4 separate regions of the Homo sapiens genome follow, and regions 1, 2 and 4 are each linked to region 3. The links are contacts of gene promoters, found by promoter capture Hi-C in blood cells and fetal thymus (Javierre and others, 2016). All regions are on one chromosome and are shown on one strand. Each heading gives the region's core, a stretch centred on a gene start or on the middle of the fragment in contact. The rest is flanking DNA. Distances are from core to core; before and after follow the strand shown. Region 1 overlaps FAM193B (family with sequence similarity 193 member B). Region 2 overlaps PDLIM7 (PDZ and LIM domain 7). Region 3 holds the start of LMAN2 (lectin, mannose binding 2). Region 4 has its middle 23 kb from the start of FGFR4.

Region 1 (4,422 bases), core at 475-2,974, 200 kb before region 3:
GTTGCTTCTCTCTGACCCCATCAGGAACTTCACAAGAGGCCTTGGTGGCTCACGCCTGTAATCCCGGCACTTTGGGAGGCTGAGGCAGGAGGATCTCTTGAGGCCAGAAGTTTGAGACCAGCATTGGTGACATAGTGAGATCTCTGGTTCTATAAAAAAAAAAAAATCAAAACTTAGCTGGGCATGGGTTCACACCTATAGTCTCAGCTAGTTGGGATGCTGAGGCGGGAGGATTGCTTGAACCCAGGAATTAAGTTACCCAGGACTTCATGTGCACGCCACTGCACCCCAGCCTGGGGGAGAGAGGGAAACACCGTCTCCTTTTAAAATAATAATAATACTTCACAAGAGAAGCAACCTATGCAGCAGCTAGTACATAGAAGCGCCTCACCTAAGAGAGGGGGCAGGAGCTGTGCCAGGTGGCCATACAAAGCCTGAGTGTTCTGGCCTGTTAGCTCTGCTAGCTGTCTTTCATCTCTCTTGGACCACTGAGTTTGTAATCCAGTGTACACTCAATAAGCCCCCAGGAGACTTGCTAGGATGTAAGCCAGCAGTTGGTGAGGAGAGGTGAACTCATCCTACCCTTCCCCACCTCTTGTTCCCTCCACATTGTCCTCTGGGACTTTGCCCAGTCTAGTTTAAAGGGACTCTAGAGATCCGATTCTTCCACTGTTCCCTCAAGAAATTGGAGCAGATGATTAGTCAGTATCTTTAATAAAAGCATCTCATTATGTTTAATTCACTCAGCAGATACCAAAACCACCTCTGTGCCAGGACCTTTATTTGGGGTGCACAGATGGATAAGATAGTTCCTATCTTTGGGGACCTCCCCCTTAGAATCAGTGCCTACCCAGCCTGCACTACTTCCATTGTCAGTAGGAGGAAATGATACTGAGGGGATCCTTGCCACCTCTGGTTCTTCTTTGTAAGCCAGTAGAGACTCACTATATAAAAATGTCAAAAGACCTTTGAAAATGAAGACTTACCCACTTAGGATTTTAATTTTTTTTTTTAATTTAGAGATAGGATCTTGCTATGTTGCCCAGGCTATCCTCAAACTCCTGGACTCAAGTGATACTTCTCCTTAAGCCTCCCAAATAGCTGGGACTACATGTGCATGCCACTACACCCAGCTGAGTTTTAAATTTTTAATTTTTGATATCAGATGGATGATCCTAACACCTTTACTTACCTCATCTAGAATTTTTTAGAGCAGGGTCTATGTTTTAATTTATTTGGGGGGAAATATATTGTGTGTGGACCTTATATACTCAATACATGGCTGTTAAAAATTATAATAAGTAAGGATTCTACCACTTTGTTCTTGTCTGCCCCCACAACTGGGCCAGGCTGGCAGTTATTCATTTAGGCCAGCCATTCGCATGCTGTGATGCCCAGTTTTATTTCACATGGCATTTATTGTGCAGACACTAACCGATCCCAGCTCTGTGCCAGGCCTGGGCTAGCTGCGCATGCAGAAGTGAATCAGACATAGTCCCTTCCCACAAGGGGCTCATAGTCTAGAGAACGTGTGTATAGTAATTGCAGTAATGCTAGAAGGAGATATAGCATCGGCTTCCTCTGAATAAAGGTTCAAATCCTGGACCCTATTAAGTGGCCTTTGCAAGTGTTTCAGCCTCTTGGTTTGTTTTCTCATGTATAAAATGACAATCCAGGCTGGGCGCGGTGGCTCATGCCTGTAATCCCAGCACTTTGGGAGGCCGAGGCGGGAGGATCACGAGGTCAGGAGATCGAGACCATCCTGGCTAACACGGTGAAACCCTGTCTCTACTAAAAATACAAAAAAATTAGCCGGGCATGGTGGCGGGCACCTATAGTCCCAGCTACTTTGGAGGCTGAGGCAGGAGAATGGCGTGAACCTGGGAGGTGGAGCTTGCAGTGAGCCAAGATCGCGCCACTGCACTCCAGCCTGGGCGACAGAGCGAGACTCCTTTCTCAAAAAAAAAAAAAAAAAAAAAAGAAAAGACAATCCAGTCTTACATGGTTAATGTTAGGGTCCAACAAGTGCGGTATGCTTAACACAAGTGGTAGCTCTGAGTATTGTAGATATTTGGTGTCAGGGTTGCCCAAGACATAACCTAGAGGAAGATGGGTCAGAGAATGCTTCTCAGAGCTGAGTCTTCAAGGTTGTGTAGAAGTTCTCCAGAGGACAAGGTGGTAGAAAGGAGTCTAAACAAAGGAAGGAACTTGTACAAAGACCCAGGGCGAGCACCACTCATTTGGAGAGTCGGGAGAGATCCGGCTGAAGGGGCTAGCAGGGTTCTTGAAAACCACACCAAGAGGTTTAGGCTTTATCCTGTAGGTGGTGAAGAATCAATGAAAGGTTTTAAGCAGGAAAGAGAACGTGATGTGCTTCAATACATTCTCTGATAGCATGTGAGGAAGTAATTCTCAGTGGGAGAGACAGCTGTGATTGCTTGATTCCACCTCTCCCTTGCCCCAAGCTAATAATCATCAGATCCCCTGTGCTTTGCTGGACCCTATCCCAGACTTACAGAGTCAGTCTCCAGGTCTGGATCCCAGGTATCTATTGTTGAATTGTTCCCAAGTGACTCTGACATGTGACTGGGTCTGGGAGCTGCTGAATTGAGGGTGCCAGGGGGATCTTTGAGGAGACCTAGGGTATTCTTCAAACAGTGGGTTTCCCAGGGAGGAGCTTTTCCATAAACAAGAACAGAAACAACCTTAGTTTAAAACAGAACAAAAAACCTTCCCCCAGTTCTGATCTATTAATGATATTTGCCAACTTCCATTGTGTATAATCTTCCATTGTGTATCCAAACACTTACCTGTGCCTACTCTGTGCTACAGCTTCTGCTGAATGACTGCAATACAGTGACTTGTGGGACACAGGCTCTGCCCTTGAAAAGCTCACAGTATTGTGGAAAGGACAGATTTCAACCACTAGAATATATATGATAAGCTCTATTCTAGAGATACGTTTTTAAACAAAAGAGTGTTAGGATATCCTAGAGCAAAGCCAAGTTCATTCTTCCTGTGGACTTAAGAGGATGTAACACCCAGATCGAGCCTAAAAAAAAGAGAAGAAAAAGGCAGAAGGAACAGCATATGGGAAGGTGTGACTACTTTATGTATTTGGTCCTTCTTGGCAGGATGTGCAGAAGCAGAGAAGGACTGAGGAGAGGCATGCTATGTCTTGGGAAGGGCCCTGTGTGTGTGCCTTCGGTTCTGTGCCTGTGAGCCTGCCTTCATCCTTCAGACTCTGGGTGGCTCCCAGCACAGCAGCTGCATGGTTGTGCAGCCTGTGGGCCAACATGCTGCAGTCCATCTCCCCTTCATTCTCCACCAAAGGCCCTTAGCTCCCTTTATTATTTCCCCCTCCATGCTTAGGATGCTTAGCACAAGTGGTAGCTACGAGTAGATCTATCTACTGTGAAAAATGATGTAGGGAAACTAAAGCAGAAAGAAGGGGCTGGTGGAACTGCAAACACTGAAGGTTTTATTAGGAAGTTATAGCCAGAAAACAAGGAGCTGGGGGTTCAAAGAGGCCTTGAAGTCACTTGTCTAGTCCTTCTGTCCTTTGCTTCAAGAAATAAATTTGGGGCCGGGCGCGGTGGCTCACGCCTGTAATCCCAGCACTTTGGGAGGCCGAGACGGGAGGATCACGAGGTCAGGAGATCGAGACCATCCTGGCTAACACGGTGAAACCCCGTCTCTACTAAAAAATACAAAAATTAGCCGGGCATGGTGGCGCGTGCCTGTAGTCCCAGCTACACAGGAGGCTGAGGCAGGAGAATGGCGTGAACCCGGGAGGCGGAGCTTGCAGTGAGTCGAGATCGCGCCACTGCACTCCAGCCTGGGCGACAGAGCGAAACTCCGTCTCAAAAAAAAAAAAAAAAGAAATAAATTTGGTTTGGGCAAGTCTCACTTAGTAAGTTTCCCTGTCATTTCTTCCAGGGCAGAAGAGGAAAGAAACTAACGGGTATTGAGCACCTACTTTGTGCCAGGCCCAGGCCAGGTACTTTACATAATTTATTTCCTTCTGTCCTCACAACTCTGTAAAATATGGTTTTATTCCCATTTCATAAATGAGGAAATTGAGGCTCAAAGAAATTGAGTAATATTCCAAGATCATATTGAAAATGGCAACTGGGATTTGAACTCACAACTGTGTGTCTCGTCCCCAAAATTCATGCTCTTCCTCCTCCATGAGTAACGTGTGCTGGGGTTAGAGTAGCAGAGTGGCAGTTTGACCTGAGGATTCAGGTAAATCTGCGGCTTGGGCCCTCCTTGTGGCTCATTGCACCCAGGAGGCAGTTCAGCGGATGAGCTAGCCTTGTGGGGATATTAAAACAGAAAGTTTTAGGGTTAAGGTCACTAGGATCAGAGAGACTCACTCCCAACCGAGCTTGTACAACCAGAAAGGATTCTCCACTGACT
Region 2 (4,555 bases), core at 1,191-3,690, 130 kb before region 3:
TCAGGAGATTGAGACCATCCTGGCTAACACGGTGAAACCCCATCTCTACTAAAAATACAAAAAAATTGGCCGGGCATGGTGGAGTAGTCCCAGCTACTCGGGAGGCTGAGGCAGGAGAATGGCGTGAACCTGGGAGGCAGAGCTTGCAGTGAGCCGAGATCGCGCCACTGCACTCCAGCCTGGGCGACAGAGCGAGACTCTTGTCTCAAAAAGAAAAAAAGAAAGAGAAATCTGCCTCCCAGCCTTGGGCTCCTGCCCTACCAGCCCACACCCCTGGTAGAGCCCCCTCTCCCACCAGCTCAAAGCCCAAGTTCCTTCACTGTGACCTTGTCTGCTCCTCTAAAACAGGCAACACCAGACAGTGAGAAGAGCCAGCCAGACATGGGCAGAAAACCTATTTCTGTGATCTACTGGCTGTGTGAGCAGGGGCTAGTTGCTCTCTCTGGGCCTCACTGAAGAGAAGGGTGGCACTATGCTAGGGCCGGCACGGTTGCAAGGTAGATGTAAGATGGGGTACAGGTGTTGTGGAGGGCAGAAATGCACCATCCGAAGGCTACATGTCCCCCACACTTATGTCTTGCTTGGCCCACACTGTTTCATTTTAAAATCAGTAGCAAACAATTTAAAAAATCAGAAGATTTGCCTGCATGATGCAGTGGCTCATGCCTGTAATCCCAGCACTTTGGGAGGCCAAGGTGGGAGGATTGCTTGAGCCCAGGAGTTCAAGACCAGCATGGGCACCATAGCAAGACCCCTGTTTCTACAAAAAAAAAAAAATTAGAAAATTAGCCAAGTGTGGTGGCATGCACCTGTGGTCCCAGCTACTTGGGAGGCAGAGGGAAAGTGAGATCTCCTGCTTTTTATTTCTTTATGTATAATGATAGGGTCTTGCTCTGTTGCCCAGGCTGGAGTGCAGTGGCATGATCACTGCTCACTGCAGCCTTGATCTCCTGGGCTCAGAGGATCCTCCCACCTCAGCCTCCCAAATAGCTAGGACTAGAGGTGCCCACCAGCATGCTCAGCAGATTTTTAAATCTTTTTGTAGAGATGAGGTTTTGCTATGTTGCCCAGGCTGGTCTCGAACTCCTGGCCTCGAGCGATCCTCCCACCTTGGCCTCCCAAAGCACTGGGATTACAGACGTGAGCCACTGCGCCCAGCAGATTTCTCTTTAACACCTAGATTTCAGCCTGAGCCAGGCAGGCATTCCTGAATGAACCAGTAGTACTGCTCCCAGAAGAAGAGGTCCTCCTCCGTGTGACACAGTCCCCACTTGGCCCTTGCAGGGATTGGATCTGGGATCCCTGGATTTAAACTCAGGGCCATCCTCATAACAGCCTCACAAGGCTGGGATTAGCTTCCCAGTTCACAAGGGAAGAAACCAAGACTTGAGAAGGTCAAGGTCTGGCCAGACCCACACATCTTGGACCCTCATACCGCCTCGAGGCCCCATGCTGCCCTCTGCCTGCTCCAGATGTGAATACTGCTGGCCCTGGCTGGCCCCGGCTGGCCCCGAGGGTCCTAGGGATGAACAGCCCAGCCCAGGGAGAGCTCAGCCCCTTGTGCCTCTGCCCCTTCCCACCTCCTGCGGAGGCCAGTCGACTCACCCACAAAGGGCCAGGCACTGTGGGGATAGATCAGCTAACAAAACAGTTGATGCTTCCTGCCCTTCTGGGCCTTACATTTTGGCTGGAAGAAGAGGGGAGAGGCAGACTGTAAGCAATAAGCGCAATAAGTAGGTTGCCTGGAAGTAATGTTAGATCACGTTACGGAAAACAGGAAAGAGCAGAGCGACAAGTGCTGGGGTGCGTGGTGCAGGGAAGGCAGCTGGCTGCTGCTGGTGTGGTCAGAGTGGGCCCTCATGGAGAAGACTGCATTCGAGCAGAAACTTGAAGGGGGTGAGGGGTGAGCCTAGAGATATCTGGGGCAGAGCAGTCCAGGCAGAGGGGACAGCCGGTGTCAAGCCCAGGACAGGAGTGTGCCTGGTGTGCCAGTTTCAGGCAAGAGGCCAGTGTGCAGAGGCAAGGTGAGAACGCAAGGGAGAGCAGTGGCGGAGACGGTTGGGAACGAGGTCAGACCTGCTGGCCTCCAGCCTCTGCATGGGGCTTGGCTCTTGCTGGGAGCAATGGGAAGCAGTACACAGTTTCATGCAGGGGGAGAAGGCCTGTCTTGGGTTGCAGGGGCACGCTGTGGCAGCTGGGATCAGAGAGAGGAGCTTGTAGGCCAGTTGTTATGTGGTCCCACGGGCCAGATGGCCATGGCTTACCTCACTTCAGGGAGGCTGTGAGAAGCACTCAGAATCTGGATGTGCCTTGGGGGTGGGCCCCACTGGATTTCCTGGTGGACCTGGTGTGGGGTGTGAGAGGAGGGTGTGTTTGGCTGCAGCAGACAGGAGAATGGAGTTGCCATCCGCGTGATGGGGATGGCTGTGGGAGGAGAGGTTTGGGGTGAGGGAATCAGGAACTGAGTGCTGGACATGGCAAGTCTGAAGGCGCAGTGGTCGTCCACTCAGAGACCTTGGAGTTGGAGATGGAGGTGTGGGAGTCCTGAACAGTTAGATGTAGTGTTTACCGCGAGAAGGAACAGGGCTTGCGGCCAGCCCTCCTGTGTTCCCGTGACCCAGGGCAGGGCAGGAGGGGCCTGAGCCTGCCGAGTGACTGGGACCTCCTTCCAGGAGATCATGCACGCCCTGAAGATGACCTGGCACGTGCACTGCTTTACCTGTGCTGCCTGCAAGACGCCCATCCGGAACAGGGCCTTCTACATGGAGGAGGGCGTGCCCTATTGCGAGCGAGGTACCCACTGGCCAGTGAGGGTGAGGAGGGATGGTGCATGGGGCAGGCATGAATCCAGGTCCTCTTTCTCTCTGCCCCCATTCTCAGACTATGAGAAGATGTTTGGCACGAAATGCCATGGCTGTGACTTCAAGATCGACGCTGGGGACCGCTTCCTGGAGGCCCTGGGCTTCAGCTGGCATGACACCTGCTTCGTCTGTGCGGTGAGAGCCCCGCCCCTCGAACTGAGCCCCAAGCCCACCGGCCCTCTGTTCATTCCCCAGGAGATGCAGGAGAAGTTGGGAAGGGGCCTCTCCTGCTGCCCCCAACCCCATGTGACTGGGCCTTTGCTGTCCTTAGATATGTCAGATCAACCTGGAAGGAAAGACCTTCTACTCCAAGAAGGACAGGCCTCTCTGCAAGAGCCATGCCTTCTCTCATGTGTGAGCCCCTTCTGCCCACAGCTGCCGCGGTGGCCCCTAGCCTGAGGGGCCTGGAGTCGTGGCCCTGCATTTCTGGGTAGGGCTGGCAATGGTTGCCTTAACCCTGGCTCCTGGCCCGAGCCTGGGGCTCCCTGGGCCCTGCCCCACCCACCTTATCCTCCCACCCCACTCCCTCCACCACCACAGCACACCGGTGCTGGCCACACCAGCCCCCTTTCACCTCCAGTGCCACAATAAACCTGTACCCAGCTGTGTCTTGTGTGCCCTTCCCCTGTGCATCCGGAGGGGCAGAATTTGAGGCACGTGGCAGGGTGGAGAGTAAGATGGTTTTCTTGGGCTGGCCATCTGGGTGGTCCTCGTGATGCAGACATGGCGGGCTCATGGTTAGTGGAGGAGGTACAGGCGAGACCCCATGTGCCAGGCCCGGTGCCCACAGACATGAGGGGAGCCACTGGTCTGGCCTGGCTTGGAGGTTAGAGAAGGGTAGTTAGGAAGGGTAGTTAGCATGGTGGCTCATGCCTGTGATCCCAGCACTTTGGAAGGCCAAGGTGGGCAGATCGCTTGAGGTCAGGAGTTCGAGACCTCATGGCCAACACGGTGAAACAGCGTCTCTAGTAAAAATACAAAAATTAGCCGAGTGTGGTGGGGCATGCCTGTAATCCCAGCCACTCAGGAGGCTGAGGCGGGAAAATCACTTGAACCTGGGAAGTGGAGGTTGCAGTGAGCTGAGATCACACCACTGCGCGCGAGCCTGGGTGGCAGATGGCAGAGCGAGACCCTGCTTCAAAAAAAAAAAAAAAAAAAAAAAAAGAAGGGTAGTTGTAGTTGGGGGTGGATCTGCAGAGATACGGTGTGGAAAACAGCAATGGCCACAGCAAAGTCCTGGAGGGGCCAGCTGCCGTCCAAACAGAAGAAGGCAGGGCTGGAGAGGGTAGCCCTTAGGTCCTGGGAAGCCACGAGTGCCAGGCAGTAGAGCTGGGGCTGTCTCTTGAGGTTAGGGCAGGGCAAGGCACAGCAGAGTTTGAAATAGGTTTGTGTTGTATTGCAGAAAAGAGGCCCCAGAACACTGAGGGAGTGCAGGAGGGAGGCTGGGAGGAGGAGTTGCAGCAGGGCCTAGGGGCGGGGGCCAGGCAAGGGAGGGGCAGAGAGTAATATGGCAGAGATGGGACCCAGTGGCAGGTCCGGGGGATGAGGGATGGAGAGAAGGACAGGAGCGTTGCCAGGCATCTGGCCTATACCAGACATGCTCACGCTGTCTCCCGCGAACCTCCTAGCAACCTTGCGCCGTTGTCTGCAATCACTTATTTCATTTTTTCTTTTTTAACTTTAATTTTTTTTGT
Region 3 (4,591 bases), core at 1,969-4,468:
GCCCACAGGGCATCAGTTCCTGATTTAGTCTCTGGCTGGGACTTCAGATCCTTCTTCTCTGTGAAGACCTCCTTGGCTTAGGCCTCACCCTCTCTCCCCCGATCATGATGAATCCAGTCTCCCTATTATCCCCGCTCCAATCTCTTCTCCTCACCATAGCTAGAGGAATCCACATTGGTCACTCCCATGCTTAGAAATATCCCATTGAGTTCTGGGAAAAGGCCATGTTCCTTACTTGGGAATTGAAGGCCCTTTGAGTTTTGGCTTCAGCTCCCCCGCAGCCCCCAACTCCAACTTCTCAGCCATTCCAAACTACTTGTATTTCATCTGCTCTCACACATCCCTCCCTAGATTGCAGCTCCTCTTCTCTCTGCTGAGAATGCCTTTACCTTTCCCGGAAAACTCCTACTCATTCTTCATGACCCAATTCCAGGTTCTAGAACAAATATTCATTCTTTCACCAGTTACTTATTAATCACCTCCTATGTGACAAGCACTATTCTAGATGCCAGGGATTCAGTAGTGACCATAGCTGACAAAAATCCCAGCCCCATGAAGGTCCCATGGAATGTGCATGTTTTTGTTTGTATGGGTGCAGATAAATCTCTGGAAGGGGACACTCCTTGCGAGGGGAGTGGCAGAAGACTTTTGTTGTGTCTTTTCTTTTCTTTTCTTTTCTTTTTTTGAGATGGAGTTTCACTCTTGTTGCCCAGGCTGGAGTGCAATGGCACAATTTTGGCTCACTGCAACCTCCGCTTCCTGGGTTCGAGTGATTCTCCTGCCTCAGCCTCCTGAGTAGCTGGGATTATAGGTACCCGCCACCATGGCCGGCTAATTTTTTGTATTTTTAGTAGAAACAGGGTTTCACAATGTTGGCCAGGGTAGTCTCGAACTCCTGACCTCAAGTGATCCACCTGCCTTGGCCTCCCAAAGTGCTGGGATTACAGGTGTGAGCCACCATGCCTGGCTTGTTGTGTCTTGTATGTCTGTTCTCTCTCTGTTTCCATACACACCACAAGAATGTGTGACTTTTTTGAGACAGAGTCTCACTCTGTCACTCAGGCTGGAGTGCAGTGGCAAGATCTTGGCTCACTGCAACCTCCACCTCCCAGGTGCAAGTGATGCTCGTGCCTCAGCCTCCTGAGTAGCTGGGATTACAAGTGTGCACCACCACACCCAGCTAATTTTTTGTAGAGACAGGGTTTCGCTATGTTGGCCAGGCTGGTCTCGAACTCCTAGCCTCAAGTGATCCACCCACCTCGGCCTCCCAAACTACTGGGATTACAGGTGTGAGCCACCGTGCCTGACCAGAATGTGTGACTTTAATAATAAAAAAGCGAACGAAAAATATATGACCAAGAAAAGATTCAGCACTCAATCCTGAATAAGTCCATTCATTCAAGAGGGCAGTTTCTAAAAGGAGCAAGCAACCAACATCCCTCCCTGTGATCTACAACAGGAGTCATTGATTCAAATGTCTGGAGGAGCCAGGCAAGTGCTGTAAACGAGTGACCAGGTGGGGACCAGCTTAGAAGAGGAAGGCATTGGTGGAGGGGCAGTCCCATTCAGCTCCAGCCTATTGTTCTGTTGTGGGAATGTGTGCCTAGATCTTTTGCTGCTGCTTCTTTTTTTTTTTTTTTGGGTAAAAAAACGGAAGTCTGGATTTCTTTTCTTCTTCTTCTTCTTCTTTTTTTTTTTTTTTGTAGAGACAGAGTCTTGCTCTGTCGCCCCGGCTGGAATGCAATGGCGTGATCTCTGCTCACTGCAACCTCTGCCTCCTGGGTTCAAGCAATTCTCCTGCCTCAGCCTCCCGAGTAGCTGGGACTACAGGTGTCCGCCACCACGCCGTTAATTTCTTTTGTATTTTAGTAGAGACGGGGTTTCACCGTGTTGCCCAGGCTGGTCTGAAACTCCTGAGCTCAGGTAATCTGCTCGCCTCTGCCTCCCAAAGTGCTAGGATTACAGGCCTCAGCCACTGAGCTCAGCCGGAAGTCTGGATTTCTGATGTGAATGTACATATTCCGACTTTGTGTGTGTGTGTGTGTGTGTGTGTGTGTGTGTGTGTGTGTGTGACAGAGTCTCGCTCTGTCGCCCAGGCTGGAGTGCAGTGACGCGATTTCGGCTCACTGCAAGCTCTGCCTCCTGGGTTCAAGCCATTCTCCTGGCTCAGCCTCCCGAGTAGCTGGGACTACAGACACCTGCCACCACGCCCGGCTAATTTTTTGTATTTTTTAGTAGAGACGGGGTTTCACCGTGCTAGCCAGGATGGTCTCGATCTCCCGATCTCGTGATCCGCCGGCCTCAGCCTCCCAAAGTGCTGGGATTACAGGCGTGAGCCACCACGCCCAGCCTCTATATTCTGACTTTAAAATACTGGTAGTTAAGCCATTTATTAGAATATTGGCAGGTAAAACAGAGCTCTATTCAGCTGCAGGCCACCAGTTTTCGACCTCTGATTCACAGCTTTCCTGGGCCTTCCATGGACGTTACTTGCTGTACCAGGCACTGCGCTCTTTTGCATAGGGATGAGTTCCAGTCATCACTGGGGTCCCAGGCCAGGATCTGTGTCTGTTCCTCTTGCTTCAACCCGACTAGGCCTGAGGAGTTGAGGGTAGTGGAGGCCCTCAAATAATTGGGAATTCTGAGTCTCCAAAGGCGCGAAGCTGGGGCGCCTGACGGCAGGCACGGCTTAAAGGCTTGCCCAGGGCCACCCGGGGAGGACAAGGGTTGGAATGCAGGACTCCGCCTTCAATTCAGAGCTCCTTTCTCCAGGACTAGAAAAGGTTATTCCAGAGACGGGACTTGCGGCCAGAAGCCCAAGACGTCCTAGTCTTCGCGAATCCGCCCCATTAGAGCGACCGACAAAAACTACAAATTCCAGCATGCCCCGAGTCGCGGACGGCCCTCGCGCTCCCGCCGGCTCCAACCATCCCTCTGCTCCTCATTGGCTCGCAAGCCTAACGTGCTGTTCCGTGACTGGTTACAGCTCTTGTCGCTCGAAAGAACCCATTGCTGGGGCTGGCCGGCGTGTGCCTTGGAGCCTCTAAGGAGATGAAACTGCACTCAACCAGGATGAGAGGCTGCCCGGCCAATGCAGCTGCCGCCCCGTCTGCTGCGGAGGCTTTGCTTTTTGACTCCCTGGCGACAGTAAAGTTGAAGAGCTTCCGGCCGGAGGCCAATAGATGGGACCCCCGGAAGGCGGAAGTTCTAGGGCGGAAGTGGCCGAGAGGAGAGGAGAATGGCGGCGGAAGGCTGGATTTGGCGTTGGGGCTGGGGCCGGCGGTGCCTGGGAAGGCCTGGGCTTCTCGGCCCCGGCCCTGGCCCCACTACACCTCTCTTTCTTCTTTTGTTGTTGGGGTCTGTGACTGCGGATATAACTGACGGCAACAGTGAACATCTCAAGCGGGAGCATTCGCTCATTAAGCCCTACCAAGGTGAAGCCCTTGGGGCGGGAATGAGTGAAGAGTGAGGGCGAGGCTGAACAGGGCTAGGGGAAGGCGTGCCCTTTCTCCTGAGCAGAGCATCTCTGTGGGTTTCCTGCCTCTGGTGAGGCCAGTCCTGGCGTGGCCTCTTAGCACCTGTCTCTTCCCACAGGGGTCGGTTCCAGCTCTATGCCCCTCTGGGACTTCCAGGGCAGCACTATGCTCACGAGCCAGTACGTACGTCTGACCCCTGACGAGCGCAGCAAAGAGGGCTCTATCTGGAACCACCAGGTGAGTGGTTCTCAAGAGGATAGGCGTACTGTGCGGTTGGCTGCTAGTCCCTGCCTCCCGAGCAGCTGAGACCCCAGCTTCGTTTATAGGTTTGCACCTCCGTCCCTGGCCTTTTCCTCATCTCGGTCACACCCACCAATAATAAGAGGCGATGGGTATTGGGTACTTACTATGTGTCAGGAGCTGCGCTTGACACTTTACATCCTCCTCACTTTAAAAGCCATGCGAGATGAGTAATGTTATCTCCATTTTACCCACTGAGAAGCTAAGACTCAGGTTTGAAAGGGCCTTACCCAAAGTTACATAGCCAGAAAGTAGTGGAACTGTCAGGCTGTCTGCCTTGAACCCCCTCAGTAATGGGAAGAACCGAGCGAACTGGATCTTTATTGGGTGTTTTGCTGTGTATTAGGCACTGACCTTGCCATGCCTTATTGCATTTAATTTTCAAACAAGCTGTTTGAAATAGATGGCTTTCATGACTATACAAAGATAACCCAGCTAGCAAATGTCATAAACAGTATTTAAACTCTGATTTGTCTGATCTCTAAGCCCAGCAGTTCACTCGATGTACTTGACTCTTTTCACCTGGACAGTGGAGGAACCCCTTAGAACCCTTTTTGCAATGCTTGGTTGAGGGTCTTGTCATCAGTAGTGTGGAGGGACTGGACCTGTGGGCAGTTCTAGTGTCTGTGACCTTTGCCTCAGAGTATGTAGTATGTAGTATGTGAGCAGTGGCCAATGACAGCTGCTACACAGAATCCACACTGAGGCAGTCAAGGTGAGGAAAAAGGGGAAAGAAGAATAATTTGGGGCTGGGTTACAGCTTGGAGCGGGACCTGCTCCTGCCCCAGCTTGCCTAATCTCAGCCCTTCCCATGG
Region 4 (4,420 bases), core at 270-2,769, 240 kb after region 3:
CCCACCCCCCATCAGCCAGTCCCCTTTTATTATTATTTATTTATTTATTTTCTGGGTTTTTTTTGAGACAGAGTCTCGCTCTGTCACCCAGGCTGGAGTGCAGTGGTGCGATCTTGGCTCACTGCAACCTCCGCCTCCCAGGTTCAAGCAATTCTCTGCCTCAGTCTCCCAAGTAGCTGGGACTACAGGCGCCCGCCACCACGCCCAGCTAATTTTTTGTATTTTTAGTAGAGACGGGGTTTCACCATCTTGGCCAGGCTGGTCTTGAGCTCCTGACCTTGTGATCCCCCGCCTCAGTCTCCCAAAGTGCTGGGATTACAGGTGTGAGCCACTGCGCCCAGCCCCCTTTTATTTTTATTTTTATTTTGTTTTTGAGAGGGAGTCTTGCTCTGTCATCCAGGCTGGAGTGCAGTGGCATGATCTCGGCTCACTGCAACCTCCACCTCCTGGGCTCAAGCGATTCTCCTGCCTCAGCCTCCCGAGTAGCTGGGCTACCTAGTAGCCCACCCACACCCAGCTAATTTTTGTATTTTTAGTAGAGACAGGGTTTCACTGTGTTGGCCAGGCTCATCTCAAACTCCTGACCTCAGGTGATCTGCCCGCCTCAGCCTCCCAAAGTGCTGGGATTACAGGCATGAACCACTGTGCCCGGCCTCCCTTTTATTTATTTATTTATTTATTTATTTATTTATTTATTTATTTCAGACAGGAGCTTGCTCTGTGTTCCAGGCTGGAGTGCAGAGACTCAATATCGTAGCTCACTGCAACCTACTGGGCCAGATCCTGAAGGCCTCCTCTGCGTGTTAAGGAGCTTGGACTATTCCAAGCAGAGACTGTTCTCTCTGTAAGAGTGATCCTACCACCTCAGCCTCCCAAGTAGCTGGGACTACAGGCACGTGTTCTCGCACTCGGCTAATTGTTTTATTTTTTTTGTAGAGACAGGGTCTCACTGTGTTGCCCAGACTGGTCCTGAACTCCTGGCCTCAAGTCATTCTCCCGCCTCAGCCTCCCAAAATGCTGGGATTTCAGGCGTGAAATGCCATGCCTGGCCTAGCAAATCCTCTTATTCTGCATCTGGCCTTCCACTTTTCTCTATCCCCTTGGCCAAGCTGGGAGCCTCAGAATGTAGCTGTGCAGAGGCGCTGCTGGCCCCAGACCAGAGAGTGGGAGACAGCGTGGATGGTCACTCTGTGGATGCTCTGGGGCTCTTACTTCTGTCTTCTTGGGAGGCCACACATGTACTTTGGGGGGCTGTTCCGGTTCCCGGCTCTGAGTCTAGCCAGGCGCTGCAACAATCCCCTCCACTGCCTGCCCATCTGCACCAGCCCCTTGCTTTCCTGTCTTGTCACTTGCCTTAGGATAAACCCACAGCCTACGAGGCCCCCTGGGTTTGGCCTCATCTGGCACCGTGTTCCCCCTCACTCTTGTGCTCTGTCCACGGAGCTGGATCGGATGCCCTCACCTTCGCCCTGCACCTGCCTGCCTCCAGACCTTTGCAGAGACCATTCTGTCTGCCTGGAATGCATTTCCTCCCACTCTTCACAAGGCCAAGGCTCTCCTCCTTCAACTCAAACATCATTCCCTCAGGGAACCCTTCCCGGAGCCGGAGCCGGAGCCGGAGCCGGCCAGGATCAGTCCCCACCGTCAGCACTCACAGCTGCAGGCTGTTGACCTTCAGAGCTCTGCGTTTCATTACAGTCAGCATTTTCCTGGGTGTTTGTTGAATATCTGTCTCCATTTGTAGATACGAAACTCCTCAGGGCAGGGGCCAGGTCTGTCTTCACTGGGTATACCCAGTGACTAGAAGAGTACCTGGCCTATGGTAGGTGCCCAGTAAACATTTCTTGATTTACTGAGCCTTTCAATTCCCAACACTCCACAACTCCACACCCCTGCACGCCTTCCTCTATCTGGTCAGTGCTCAGTGCTTCGTTCTTTTTTTTTTTTCTTCTAATACAGAGTTTTGCTCTTGTTGCCCAGGCTGGAGTGCAATGGCACAATCTCAGCTCACTGCAACCTCTGCCTCCCGGGTTCCAGCAATTCTCCTGCCTCAGCCTCCGGAGTAGCTGGGATTACAGGCGCGTGCCACCACGCCCGGCTAATTTTTGTATTTTTAGTAGAGACAGGGTTTCACCATGTTGGCCAAAATGGTTTTGATCTCCTGATCTCGAGATCCATCCGCCTCGGCCTCCCAAAGTGCTGGGATTACAGGCGTGAGACACTACGCCAGGCCTCATTCTCCATTCTTATCACCCTGCCCCCCAGACAGTCGTGCTAATAGTTTTGTGTGTGCGTTCTTGGAAAATGTGTGTTTTCCGTGTCATCATTTCGTGCAAGTGGCTTTGTGCTTTAGATCTCATTCCATTTCTTCCTCTTGCCTCTCAGCACGAGATTTCTAAGTCCCCCATGTGGCTCTGTGTCCACCGGGTCCTCCACACATTCTGCTGATCCGCCTTCCAGTGAGGAACCCCAGGCTGGATCCAACCCCTCCTCCTGCCTTCCCCACACGGTCACATGGGAGGATCTCTGTGTGTTGTGTGTGTGTGTGTGTGTGTGTGTGTGTGTGTGTGTGTGTGTTTGGGGGCAGTTATATGTTCAGGGCAACATTTCCAGGTCATAGGGCATGTGTGTATATACTTAGCTGAATGCTCCTAGACTTCGCTGGGACAGCTTCAGCCCCCAGTCCAGGAGAGCCTCTCGTCTCCTTGCCAGCACCTGGAGTTCTCCAGCTTTTTTTTTTTTTTTTTTTTGAGACGGAGTCTCTCTCTGTCACCCAGGCTGGAGTGCAGTGGGACGATCTCAGCTCACTGCAAGCTCCGCCTCCTGGGTTCACGCCATTCTCCTGCCTCAGCCTCCTGAGTAGCTGAGATTACAGGTGTGCACCACCATGCCTGGTTAATTTTTGTATTTTTAGTAGAGACGGGGTTTCACCCTACTGGTCAGGCTGGTCTTGAACTCCTGACCTCGTGATCTGCCCTCCTTGGCCTCCCAAAATGCTGGGATTACAGGCTTGAGTCACCATGCCTGGCTAATTTTTGTACTTTTAGTGGAGACGGGGTTTCACCATGTTGCCCAGGCTGGTCTCGAAATCCTGACCTCAGGTGATCTGCCTGCCTTGGCATCCCAAAGTGCTGGGATTACAGGTGTGAGCCACCATGCCCGGCCTTTTTTTTTTTTTTTTTTTTTTTTTTTTTTTAAATACCGAGTTTTGCTCGTGTTGCCCAGGCTGGAGTGCAATGGTGCAATCTCAGCTCACTGCAACCTCTGCCTCCTGAGTTCAAGCGATTCTCCTGCCTCAGCCTCCCGAGTAGCTGGGACTACAGGCGCCCGCCACCGCGCCCGGCTAATTTTTTGTATTTTTAGTAGAGATGGGGTTTCACTGTCAGCCAGGATGGTCTCGATCTCCTGACCTCGCGATATGCCCGCCTCGGCCTCCCAAAGTGCCGGGATTACAGGTGTGAGCCACCGCGCCCGGCCCATTCTCTGACTTTCTCACTTGCCAGTCTGGTAGGTAGGAAGTGAGAGCACACCTAAGATTATTCTCGAGTCTCCAGATCTCCTCCAGTGCTTCTTAGCCTCTGGGTCTCCTCCTCAGTCAATTACCTGGTTGCACACTGTCCTTATTTGTGTTTCGAGGTGCCCGTCTTCTTTCGGAGTTGCAGGAGTTCCTTAGATATTGGTCCCTTGTCTCCCATGTTGTCCCCCACACAGTATTGGGGAATCCTGGTTTATAAGCAGACACCCCCAGCCTGGAGGTCCCTCAAGGGCAGTAACAGTCCCGAGCTGTCCCTGCGACTCCATCCTGACATCAGGGCTGGGCCACCGGGTCAGAGGATGAGAAGGGGTTGCCGGACCCCCTACAGACACTCTGGGGCTCATGGTTGCAGTCCCCTCAGGAGGCAACATGGATATTTTGGGAGCATTGTCTCAGGTCCTGAGAGTTTTTTGGAGCCTCTCTGAGATCAGCTCAGCAGCCTGGGATTTGAATTCTGAATTTGGGAAATTTATTCAACATGTCTTTTTTCCATGAACGTCTATGGAGCACGGACTATTAGGCAGACACCATTGTAGACATTGGCGGCGCAGCCCTTGGCTTCTCAGAGCTCACCTTTTGGTGGGAGCCAGTAAAGAGTGAACAAATAAGATCATCGCAAAGAAAACAAACGTCTAAAATATGGAATAACAGAGAGAGGACTTTGGCCAGGGTGATCAGGGGAGGCCAATCTTAGGAGCTGACTTTTATTCTGAGAGCCAGAAGAGCCAGGTGAAGATAGTGGCCAGTGCAAATGCCCTGGGGTGCTAGTGGGCTTGGGACAAGGGAGACACAGAAAGGTCATGGGGCTGGAGGCTAGACAGGGGAGGGGCGAGTAAGGAGCTTGGCAGTGGTCAGGGACCCATTCAGGCTGTGTCAGGTGGTTCT

The links. The method cuts DNA at HindIII sites, captures the fragments that hold promoters and counts their contacts. A CHiCAGO score of 5 or more calls a contact.
Region 1: a contact is called between a fragment that was not itself captured here and the fragment with the promoter of LMAN2 in region 3, in 7 of 17 cell types (monocytes, activated CD4 T cells, total CD8 T cells and 4 more). The highest score is 8.7, in monocytes.
Region 2: a contact is called between a fragment that was not itself captured here and the fragment with the promoter of LMAN2 in region 3, in 8 of 17 cell types (activated CD4 T cells, total CD8 T cells, total CD4 T cells and 5 more). The highest score is 7.7, in activated CD4 T cells.
Region 4: a contact is called between a fragment that was not itself captured here and the fragment with the promoter of LMAN2 in region 3, in 1 of 17 cell types (fetal thymus). The highest score is 5.8, in fetal thymus.

What each region holds. Positions count from the first base shown.
Region 1 is chr5:177,546,746-177,551,167 of GRCh38, reverse strand. All of the region lies in intron 1 of FAM193B (family with sequence similarity 193 member B), which reads left to right. Among named protein-coding and RNA genes, the nearest start is that of FAM193B, 5.6 kb to the left of the region's middle. The HindIII fragment of the contact is 5,989 bases long and covers 1-4,422 here.
Region 2 is chr5:177,482,308-177,486,862 of GRCh38, reverse strand. It overlaps PDLIM7 (PDZ and LIM domain 7), which reads left to right. Exons shown (of 13, transcript NM_005451.5): 11 at 2,673-2,793; 12 at 2,881-2,996; 13 at 3,133-3,469. The coding sequence ends at 3,219. Among named protein-coding and RNA genes, the nearest start is that of DBN1, 11 kb to the right of the region's middle. RefSeq lists enhancers at 1,416-2,131, 2,132-2,847. The HindIII fragment of the contact is 7,991 bases long and covers 1-4,555 here.
Region 3 is chr5:177,350,295-177,354,885 of GRCh38, reverse strand. It overlaps LMAN2 (lectin, mannose binding 2), which reads left to right and starts at 3,218. Exons shown (of 8, transcript NM_006816.3): 1 at 3,218-3,434; 2 at 3,595-3,713. The coding sequence starts at 3,239. RefSeq lists enhancers at 3,028-3,077, 3,088-3,277 and a silencer at 2,919-3,133. The HindIII fragment of the contact is 10,936 bases long and covers 1-4,591 here.
Region 4 is chr5:177,107,245-177,111,664 of GRCh38, reverse strand. No RefSeq gene overlaps it. Among named protein-coding and RNA genes, the nearest start is that of FGFR4, 23 kb to the right of the region's middle. RefSeq lists an enhancer at 932-1,431. The HindIII fragment of the contact is 6,039 bases long and covers 1-4,420 here.